Linked DNA regions of Homo sapiens: region 2 is linked to region 1. Evidence: promoter capture Hi-C in 16 types of primary human blood cells and fetal thymus (Javierre and others, 2016). All regions are on one chromosome and are shown on one strand. The core of a region is centred on a gene start or on the middle of the fragment in contact, and the rest is flanking DNA. Distances in the headings are between cores, read along the strand shown.

Evidence for each region. The method cuts DNA at HindIII sites, captures the fragments that hold promoters and counts their contacts. A CHiCAGO score of 5 or more calls a contact.
Region 2: a fragment that was not itself captured here is called in contact with the fragment with the promoter of STK17A in region 1 in 1 of 17 cell types (M1 macrophages); the score reaches 6.2 in M1 macrophages.

The regions. Positions count from the first base shown.
Region 1 is chr7:43,579,319-43,584,432 of GRCh38, reverse strand. STK17A (serine/threonine kinase 17a) reads right to left here and starts at 1,325. Exons shown (of 7, transcript NM_004760.3): 1 at 984-1,325. The coding sequence starts at 1,189. RefSeq lists enhancers at 236-345, 476-525 and a silencer at 926-1,705. The HindIII fragment of the contact is 5,737 bases long and covers 1-3,690 here.
Region 2 is chr7:42,951,979-42,957,393 of GRCh38, reverse strand. LOC105375253 (a long non-coding RNA gene) reads left to right here and starts at 1,265. Exons shown (of 3, transcript XR_927207.3): 1 at 1,265-1,439; 2 at 1,937-2,017; 3 at 2,909-3,267. The HindIII fragment of the contact is 843 bases long and covers 2,001-2,843 here.

The DNA.
Region 1 (5,114 bases), core at 76-2,575:
ATCTTCAGGCCACCTCTGAGGTAGGTACTGTCATCATTATACGATTTTACGGATGAGGAAAGTGAGGCTGGAGAGTCTAACCCCTCCAAAGGCAAACACAGCAAGAAGGGCACGAATATGAACTCAGGTCTGCCCCCAAAGCCAGAGTATTTAACAACTTCTTCAAACTGTTCTCAAGGAAGAGTCGCCAAACCCCACAAAAATCACTCGATCACCCCTCTTCAGCATACAAAATGTAAAGCATCCGAACAGCCTGCACCTGCAACTTTACAGACCAAGTTGTAAGCTCTCTCTACTCCCACAAAAAAAGGGTGGGCTAGCGTGGGGTGGGGGGAGAAGGCAAGAATCGGTTCCCAGCAAAGTAAAAAGCGAGAAAAGGGCCAAGCGCCCACGAAAGAAACCAATCTAAACTCGAAGCAAAGGGACCTAAATGCTTTAGAACTAAAACGGCAGAAAACCAACCAAGAAAACGAAAATGAATTCAGCAGAAGACCGACACAAGGTAACAGAGCGCCGGTGCAAAGGAAGCGGTCACAACGGATGCTGTATTTTATTAAAACCACACAGGCAGACCAAGAAAGTCGCAAGAGTTGAAGGAAAAATGCAAAGTCGGCTCCACAGACCTCTGGTTTTCAGACCCGCTGCTCGGGGTGAAAGGCAGAGCGCGGCCCGCACCTTCTCTCGTTAAATAGCCATTCGAAACGCCACAGAGAACGAAAGGGCTGAGGAAAGTGTCCGCGCCTCCGGGACCGCCATCGAGTTACCACCACTCGCTTGCTGGGCGCGGCGCGTGGAGGGGGCGCTGGTGCGACTCGGCTGCCCTACTTGCCGTCGGCACCCAAGTTTGTGCCAAGTCACAACGCGCGTTATCGGCAGCAGCAACGCCACTTCAGCCTCGCCGCCGCGGCGCCGGCACTTATCGGCGCCCACGTCCCGCCCCGCGCGTCCGGGAAGGTTCCGCGCCGGGCCCCGCCCGTCCTCACCTGCCCAGCTCCCGGCCCGGGCACAGGCTGTAGCCGTCCTGGAAGGGCTCGGTGCGCACCACGGCGCGTATCTCTGTCAGCAGCCCGCGGGCCTGGGGCGGCGGCGGCGGCCGGCACGGCCCGCTCAGACCCCGGCCTGCCCGGCCCGAGCCTGAGGTGGCGCCTGGGGAGGAGCCGCCGCTGCCTGGCTTCTCCAAAGGGATCATGGTGTTCAGGCCCGCTTCTTTCCTGGCCGCCTGTTCACTCCGAGCAGCCGGAGGGTCACGGACCCGCCCCCGGCTCCTAGTGCCGGTCCGCGGAGCCTTCAAACACCCGCTCTCCCCAGCGCGGCGCTCGGACTGCGGCAGGCAGACTACCGGTAGCTCGGGCCCGCCCCGCGCCCCGCGACCGGCCCCGCCCCCGTGACCGCCCCGCGCCTGCCCTGCACCCTGCTTCTGGCCCCGGCCAACCCCTCCCCACGTCCGCCCCGCGCCCGACCCCGCCCCGGCCTCACTCCGTGGCCGCCCGCCCCCTCGCTGAGCTCCCGCGGGGTCCTGAGCGCCCGATGCCTCACGCGCGCCCTCTGCAGCTCAGGGGGAGAAGGTGCAGCTTTCGGGACGGCCCGGAGGCTGGAGGCGACTCACAGCACCACCCTTTGGCCAGGACAGCCTACTGCGTTAGCAGAGTTGCGCACCTGTTGAGCGTCTGAGAGTCACAAAAGCTGACCTTCGGTTAATAAAAGGCATTTGAGCTGTAAGCGGGACTTCACGTGGTGAGGAGGGGAGGGGTCTGGAGGCACTTCGGTTAATAAAAGGCATTTGAGCTGTAAGCAGGACTTCACGTGGTGGGGAGGGGTGATGAGATCCTGATCTCCGTACACTGGGAGAGGGGTCTGGAGGCAGAGTTGTATAAATATTATTAACCCTGCACACCGGCCCTATGAAATAGACACTATTATATTGTCTGTAGTCGTCTCTATATTTACTTTCGAGGTCCTCTCATCCGGTCTTACGACTTTAATTACCATCTATATGCTCATGACTACAGAATTTGTATCTCTAGCTTCCAAATATTCCCTGAACTTCAGACTGGTGTATTTGACTATGCATTTGGCATCTCCACTTACATGTCAAATTAGCATCTCAGACTTAACATACACAAAAGTAAGTTGCTGATTGGTCTTCATGAATGCACTCCTACCCAGCTTTCCCCGTCTCAGTTTTCTTCATCTCCTTCCTTCTAGCTGTTCAGGCCAAAAATCTTGGGATGAGCATTGATTCCTCTCTCATGCTCATCTCCAGTTTGTCAGTAAACCCTCTTGTCTTTTCCTTCAAACTAGATGCGGCGTTTGATCACTTCTCTCTATTTCCACCTTACCACCATGGCCTGAGCCATCGTTATCTCTTACCTGGATTATTGTGATAGTTTACTAACTGGACCACCTGCTTCCATCCTTCTTTCTCCCTAATGTCGCATAGTTCATTTTCAAGGCAATGAGAGTGATCTTTTAAAAATCGAAACCAAATCACACCACTGCTCTACTCAGACTGTCTCAGTGGAGTTTTGCTTCTGGCACTGATATACTAGTTTATTTGTGTTCAATATTCTCACTAAGAAAAAATAGAAAAGTTGACAAAAGTTAAAAATTTCCTCTCCCAGCAAGGACTTGGATGACTGAAATCCTGGAAAGATAGGCAGCTCAGAAAGCCACCACTTTTCCCATGAGGTATTTGATGATTTTAAAGCCATGGCTGAAAGAGTGAGAAAGTAAGCAGAGCTTTCAGTCATCTCATGGGGTTGGGGAGACAAAAAAAAAATTGGAGTTTAGGACCTATTTATGATGAGGGGCTGGTAAGCAACTAGGCTTTCAGCTGGGACTCCGAAGAGCTATACCCTAGGGGTGTGGATGAACGGGAAATAGACCCAAGGGCTGAAAACCAGCTTCAAATGGCAACAGTAAATATTCTCTCTGGGGAAAAAAAGCATCATTCAGAGCAACACATTACCCATATAATATTTTATACACCATGTCTGAAACTTAATTTAAACAAAGGACACAGAATTGTCTTAAAAACTAAGGGAAAAAGAAAACAGAAATAAACACACAGAAGATCCAGATATTAAAGTTTAAAGACAGATTTTAAAATAATTCTGTTAAATATCTTCAAGAAATTAAATTGCAAGATAAAGAGTTTTCAGCAGAGAACTGGAAACTCCAAAGAAGAATACAATGGAATTTTGGAATTGGAGAAAAAAACACACTAACTAAAACTACTACAGAATTATGGGCTTAATAACAGATGAGATACAACTTAAGCAAGAATTAGTGAAGCTAATAAGCAAAACAAAATATGAAAAATGACATACAAGAGATATGAAAGAACTTTCTATAAAAGAGATAAGGTCTCAGAAAGGAGACTATGACACATGTGATATGTGGTAAAACATTCTAACACACACGTAATTGGAATATCAGGAAGAGAGGTGAGAGAAAAAAGGAAAAGAAGCAGTATTTGAAAAGATAACGGCTGGAAATTTTTTAAAACTAATGAACAACAATTCTCAGAGTCAAGAAACATTATGAACATAGAGCAGGATTTCAAGCAAAGAAAACCATGTCTAGGCACATTGTAAACTACTGAGAAACAAAATCAAAAAGAAAAGGTTTAAAATCAGCAAAGAAAACAGAGATATAATCTGCAAATGAGCAACAATAAAATTAAAAGCTTATTCTCAAAGAACCAATGGAAGCCTAAACACCTTCAAATGTTTTCAAAGCGCTAGGAGAAATTACCTATCAACCTATATTATATACCCAGTAAAAATGATCTTCAAAATTGAAAATAAAATACAGCCAGTTTTATAACCAAGAAACACTAAGATCATCAGCTGATTTACATTAAAGGAAATTCCAAAAGGAGTTTTTCAGGCAGATGGAATATAATCCCAAATGAAATCATGGAGACATCTAAAGGAATGAAGAGCAATCAATCCTTTTATATATGGATAGATATAAATACATATATATATATGGATAGATATAAATAAACACAATTTATATAAAACAATAAAAATAACGTCATGTGAAGTTTAAATATATGTAGAATTAAAATATACACAATAGCAGCACAAAAAGTGAGATAGAGTAAATGAAAGTAAAGTGTTCTAAAGTCCTAGGATTGTATAGGAATTGATAAAAGTACTTGGCTTTAATACATCAATAATGAATATTATAATCTCTAGAATAACAGCAAAAGTAATAGAAAAAGAATGAATAACATGTAAAAAAGAGGGGAAATGAAAAAATAAAAAATAAAAGAAGCAAGAAAGGGAAAAAAGGAACACAGACAAGTAGAAACAAATAGATGATCACTTTGGGAAGCCAAGGAGGGTAGATCACCTGAGGTCAGGAGTTCGAGACCAGCCTGGTCAACATAGTGAAACCCCCATCTCTATTAAAATAAAACACAAAAAACGAGCTAGGCGTGGTGGTGGGCACCTGTAGTCCCAGCTACTCGGGAGGCTGAGGCAGGAGAATCACTTGAACCCAGGAGGCGGAGGCTGCAGTGAGCCGAGATTGTACCACTGCACTCCAGCCTGGGCAGCAGAGTGAAACTCTGTCTCAAAAAAAAAAAAAAAGGTAAATTTTTTAAAACAGGAGGGTTTTTTGGCAAGTACATTAAATATAAATGGAATCTATACTCCAGTTAAAAGGCAAATGCTATGGACAGAATTAAAAATAATATCAATTATATGTTGCTTGTAAGAGACACCTCAAATAAAAGGCTACAGAAAGATTGAAAGGATGGAAAGAATTATGCCATGTAAATACAGGCATATCTCATTTTATTGCAATTTGCTTTATTGCACTTTGCAGATATTACATTTTTTACGAACTGAAGGTTTGTGGCAACCTTGCATCAAGCAAGTCTACCAGTGCCATTTTTCCAACAGTATGTGCTGTCTTCATTTCTTTCTGTCACATTTTGGTAATTCTCACTATGTTTCAAACTTTATTATTACTATTATATCTGTTATGGTGGACCGTGATCTTTGATCTTTGATGTTATTATTGTAATTGCTTTTGGGTACCATGAATTGCACTCATGCAAAGTTAATTGATAAATGTGTGTGATCTAACTGCTCCACCAA
Region 2 (5,415 bases), core at 1,173-3,672, 630 kb after region 1:
TGACAATCATGGCAGAAGGCAAAGGGGGAGGAGGCATCTCACAAAGCAAGAGCAAGAGAGAGAGAGAATATGGGTGCCACACGCTTTTCAACAGCCAGATCTCATGAGAACTTACTCACTATTGTGAGAACAGCACCAAGTGGGTGGTGCTAAGCCATTCATGAAAAATCCACCTCCATAATCTAATCACCTCCCACCAGGCCCCACCTCCAATGCTGGGAATTACAATTCAACATGAGATTTGGGTGGGGACAAATATACAAACTATATCAGTTTGTTGTTTAGAAAACTGAGTCTCCCCTCTATTAGTGAGTAAAGGTTTTTGTCTTTTGATATTTTTGAGTTGTCATTTCAGCTAAATGAATAATCTGTGATTCCATTTTGTGTTATCAAATGTTTTAAGCCGTTGATATTTGACAAACCTTCCAAAATTGAAATTCCAAGTTCTAAATTAAGCCTTTTTAGATCTCATTAACCTTTTTAAATATTACATCTCCTGAAGTCTAAAAGAGACATATTTGACTTATTTGGATATTAAAATCATACAGGAAGCATTGTGAAATATAAAATAATGTTTAACTTTCTTGGATTCATTATACATTCATATAAATGTATTACTAATATCTGTTCCAAAACTGTGTAAGATTCCTATAATTCTGATATATCTCAGTATATGCTATCAGTAATAATTAATGGTTGCTATGTTAAATTATTGTGTGCCACAGAGATAATGAAATTTCCTTGTCAATTGTGTCTTCAACCAAGGCTGCTCTGAAACTGTTGTCATCTATAATTGTTGTTTTATTTTGATTCTTTTCAAAATGCGGATTTATAATCAGCTATAGGACTCTGATCCTATAGGTAGGTGCTCTTGAATGCAGGTTTCTGATAACTTTTGAGAGTATGACATTAGAATAAAGTAAAAAACTTCCAAGACTCCCATGAAGAGCTAATGTGTTCATGAATATCAAGCAGAAAAAGAGTTGATTACACAGACTGAACTAATGGAAGACCAAAATAATCTTTTTATGACTTTTTGTTTAAAGTATTGGTAATTCCTTTGTTTTTCAAAGTCCAGAAAATCTTTCTTTTTCTTTTGAGTGATTTACAGAGTATATTCTTGTGAGAAAAATTTGAAACATTTCTGTCCTTTACCTGATTTCTCCAGAATTTGAAAACTATTTGTAAGTATACTTAATTTATGGCAGTATGTTTATTTCTATAAGTTCAATAAAAATCTGTTTTCTTTTTTTTTAAACAGGACACCATTGAAGGCACTGGTTATTTTACCAAGGCTTTGACTGGAATGGCATGGTTTCAGTTATAAACAGACTGCTTTAAGGAATCAAAGTTGACTTACAGAGCTGATAAAAGGCCCCTAAGAAAAACTGGCCTCACCTCTTGTCTATATAGTCCCTATATAGGTTTCCTGACCTGTGGTAAGTAAAGAATGTCACTTTCTGACAGGCCTAGGAGCTCCAAGTTTTTATGGGATCTTGAAAGGAGAAGAATTTACCCAATTCATACAGATATTTGCAGGCAGATAAATCCATGGCTGAACTCAGGGCTTTAAACAGTCTAATCTGAGATTTCTTATAAAAAAATAGCATTCCAGCAAAGTCAATTTTTTTAAAAGGGCCTATATGGCAAATAATTATTCTTGCTGCACTTTATACAAATAATGAGGCTAATCAGGCCAAATATAATAATACTAAAACTTGTTTTACAAATAGTTCCATGATTTGTCTTTAGTAAAAATGGGGACTGAAAAAAGAAAATTTGTGTTTCAAAAAAAAAAACTATAGTACACCTATTGTTAGAGTGTAGTCTTGTCCATTGTTTTTGGATCTGTATTATTTTCTGCAATTTGGAATGAATCTTTATTTTTTCCAGGCAACAATTCCCCAGACTAATGCTTTTAAATTTCTTTTTCCAGTTTTTTGACTTGGACTCAATAAAATTGCTGCTACCTTTTTACTGAGGCCTTACAAGCTAAAGCTTATTCCTTGAGACACAGGTGAGAAAAATGAGTCAGATTGCCACTGCCTTCTTCTTTTGAAACTGAAGATAGATTCTGCCCAACATCAACTTTGTTTTTCTTCTGTTTCCATAAAAATACCTCCTATTCACCTTCATCACATATTGAGACCTAGCCCATCTGCAATGGCACCTCCTGGAATGGGAAACAGCCATTTAACTAAACTGATCCATTCTTAAGAACTAGACAGGGTTTATAACCATCTTCATGAATATTCATAGCTCCTCCTGTAATCTGTTAAATATACATATATACATACACACACACACGTATATATACATATATACATACACATACACGTATATATACATACATACATAAGACATGCAAGAAATTCAAGCCATGTTAAACCCAGACCCTACATTGCCATTAGATGGTTTACATCCTAGTTTGGGTCAGGACCATCCTGATGGGAACAGTTACTGGTAATTCTCACTATAATTGTGGGAAATAGGGATACTTCTGTGCTGTGGGTTTTACTGCTGCAGCGCCTTTTGCATGGGATACTAGATAGACTTTCTCAGGGACTTGCAAGGCTCTCCACCATAATGCTGCAACAGGTTTCATCTGAGCCCAGGTACCTGAGAACACTTTCACCTCCAAGTAGATCAGTTCCATTCCAATACCTTTTAACTACACCCCTTTGCAATAGGAAGTAGCTAGAATGAATATGTCACTTGAGTTCCATAGAAATAGAATGGCATTTGATAGTGAGGTGTTGTAACCAAGGACCCTATTTTTGTTATTTTTTTCTTTTTCTTTCTGCAGTCCTTTCTACAACTTATTAGTAATGAAATAATAAGCTTTACTCTCCTTCTTTCTACCAGGTACTTCCTTGCATTGCTAACTTATCTAATTATGTTTGCTTAGAAGTTCCAGGGATTGAATCTTGAGACAATCTGGGTGCCTATGGAATTATCTCCCACCAGAAGATTACTTCAAGGCAGCAGCTAATTTACAACCTGGTCAAGCCTGAGATGGTGTCAACCCATTCTCAAGATGGGACAATAACTCAAGATAAGTCATCAAAACAAGCCACGTAGACCAGCACCACCTCTCACGCCCCCACCCACCACCCCCCACCCACCACATATCCTCCATACCAAACTTCCCCTTCTTAAACCCTAGCATTTTGCCCAAGAATTTTGAAGCAGTTTCATTAAGGCAGGAGCCTGAACCACTTCCCCACTGTTAGCTTTGGAAAATGAAGTCAATTTCCTTATACTGAACCTTGTCCTTGTTATTTAGTTTTGCAAGTGGTGAGCAGCTGAACCTACATTTGGTTGCAGTCTTATTTCTCAATTGGGGCAGTGTCTGTTTCGTCTCTCAACTGGGGCAGCACAGCGTTAAAGCTAGTGAATTAATTTCTTTTATGGAGAAGTTCTTCCCTTACCCTTTATTTTGTAAGGTATTAGTAATAGACCAGTGATGGTTATTATGTTTAGTCATACTAGTGTTAAGTACCAATAACTGTGCTGGGGAAACATGGATATATAATATTTCTGATATTCTATCCAATCTTGCCCTTGAAGAGATTTCCACCATGGGAAATCCAGAACTACTGGAAAGGGACATGAGACCACATACCCAATGAGCATCCTTTTGTAACCTATTAGCATAGTGTTGGGCCCATTGCAAAAAGAGGTTGCTTTATGGGCAACAAGTGGTATAGTAGTACCAAGGCATGAGAACTAAGGAGAAAAAAAAAAGAAGTTGGGTGGAAGCTTGTAAAATAAAATATTCTCCATCTATTAACAATTGTTAATATTAAGCATTAATTTAGATACAGACCTGGTCCAGGTCTTGGGACACCCAACCATGTCTGCGACCATCTTCTTCTCAATTGGCATCGCCTTATTTTAAGTAGAAGATTACTCTCTGGTGAAACAGTCTATTCAGGAGGCTCAGCTTTCCTTAGATGTGAGACGTGAATCCAGGAGTCTATGCCTTCTAGTTTAGCAGCACAAGAATTAGTAAGAAGTACCTGGTAAGGTCCGCTGTATCCTGGTTGGAGACAATCTTTTAAGAAATGTTTCCAATAGACAAAATCTCCAGGTTCAAGTCTGTGGTTCTTTAGATTTATGTTTCCAAGAAGCTTTCTGTGAAAAGATTATTTTACTAAGTCACAAGGTGGCACAATTTCTAGGAGACATTTTGATAGGTTTGCCTGTTATTTTAAATGGAGATAACTGTTATTTTACCAAAAGGAGTAAATCTTTTGTTTAGCAAAACCAATGGAATGGATTTTGGCCAAGGAATTTTAAAAGCCTCAGTTAATTTTGCCATTTGGGTTTTTATTATTCTGTTTGTGCATTCTACTAACCCAGATGATAGGGAGTAATAAACACAATGGAAATGCTGAAAAATAGGCCAGATGCTACATGCTGATTGAATTATCTATCCAGTGAATTATCTATTCCAATTATTCAATACCTCTGTTGCTATGAAGTTCCAATGAAATGTCTGGGTTGGAATAATTTTTTCTACAATAATTTTACTTACTGCTAAGGCTATTGCTCTTCTTCATGGAAATGCCTCTACCCAATAAGAAAACATGCAAATAATTACCAGGACATATTTGTAGCCTTATGAAAGTGGCAATTAGAAAAAAATCTAGTTGCTGTATTTCAAAGGGAGTCTCAGATAAAGGAAAGTGTCTTTGGGAAGTAAGTAATGCTTTTCCTGGATTATATTTTGGGCAAATATGACTGCTTGTATACCTTATGAGCTATCGTTGGAGAAGGTTTCCAGTAATACTGTTTTTCCTGGGCAACCATTTTGGCAGGACTCCAGTAAGTTAGATCATGCACATGTGTTAAAAATGATAACTGTAGGCCAGGTGCAGTGGCTCGCACCTGTAATCCCAACACTTCAGGAGGCTGAGGCAGGAGGATTGCTTGAGGCCAGGAGTTTGAGACCAGGCTGGGCAACATGGTGAGACCCCATATCTACAAAAAATTTACAAATTAGCCAATCATGATGGCGTGTTCCACCTAGTCAGGAGGCTGAGGTGGGAGGATAGCTCGAGCCCAGGAAGTCAAGGCAACAGTGAGCCATGTTCATGCCACTGCATTCCAGCCTGGGTGACAGACTGAAACCCTGTCTTTAAAAATATGATGGCTGTAATTCAGCAAGAAGTATGGGTGAGTTGTTTCACCTGTACCATTCTTCATCTTTTGGTGAATATTTACGCCCTTTTGTGTCCCAAACTTTTTGTGCTGATTTTGGGACTCTGGATTAATTTTATATCAATTTCAAGTGCTTCCTTAAAAGTTAATACAGGTAGATTTTCCTGTTTAGATGCGTTTTGAGTAGCACTCTTTGTGACCTTATTAGATCACTAATTTCCTCTGCATTCTGGAGTATCTTTTTTGGAA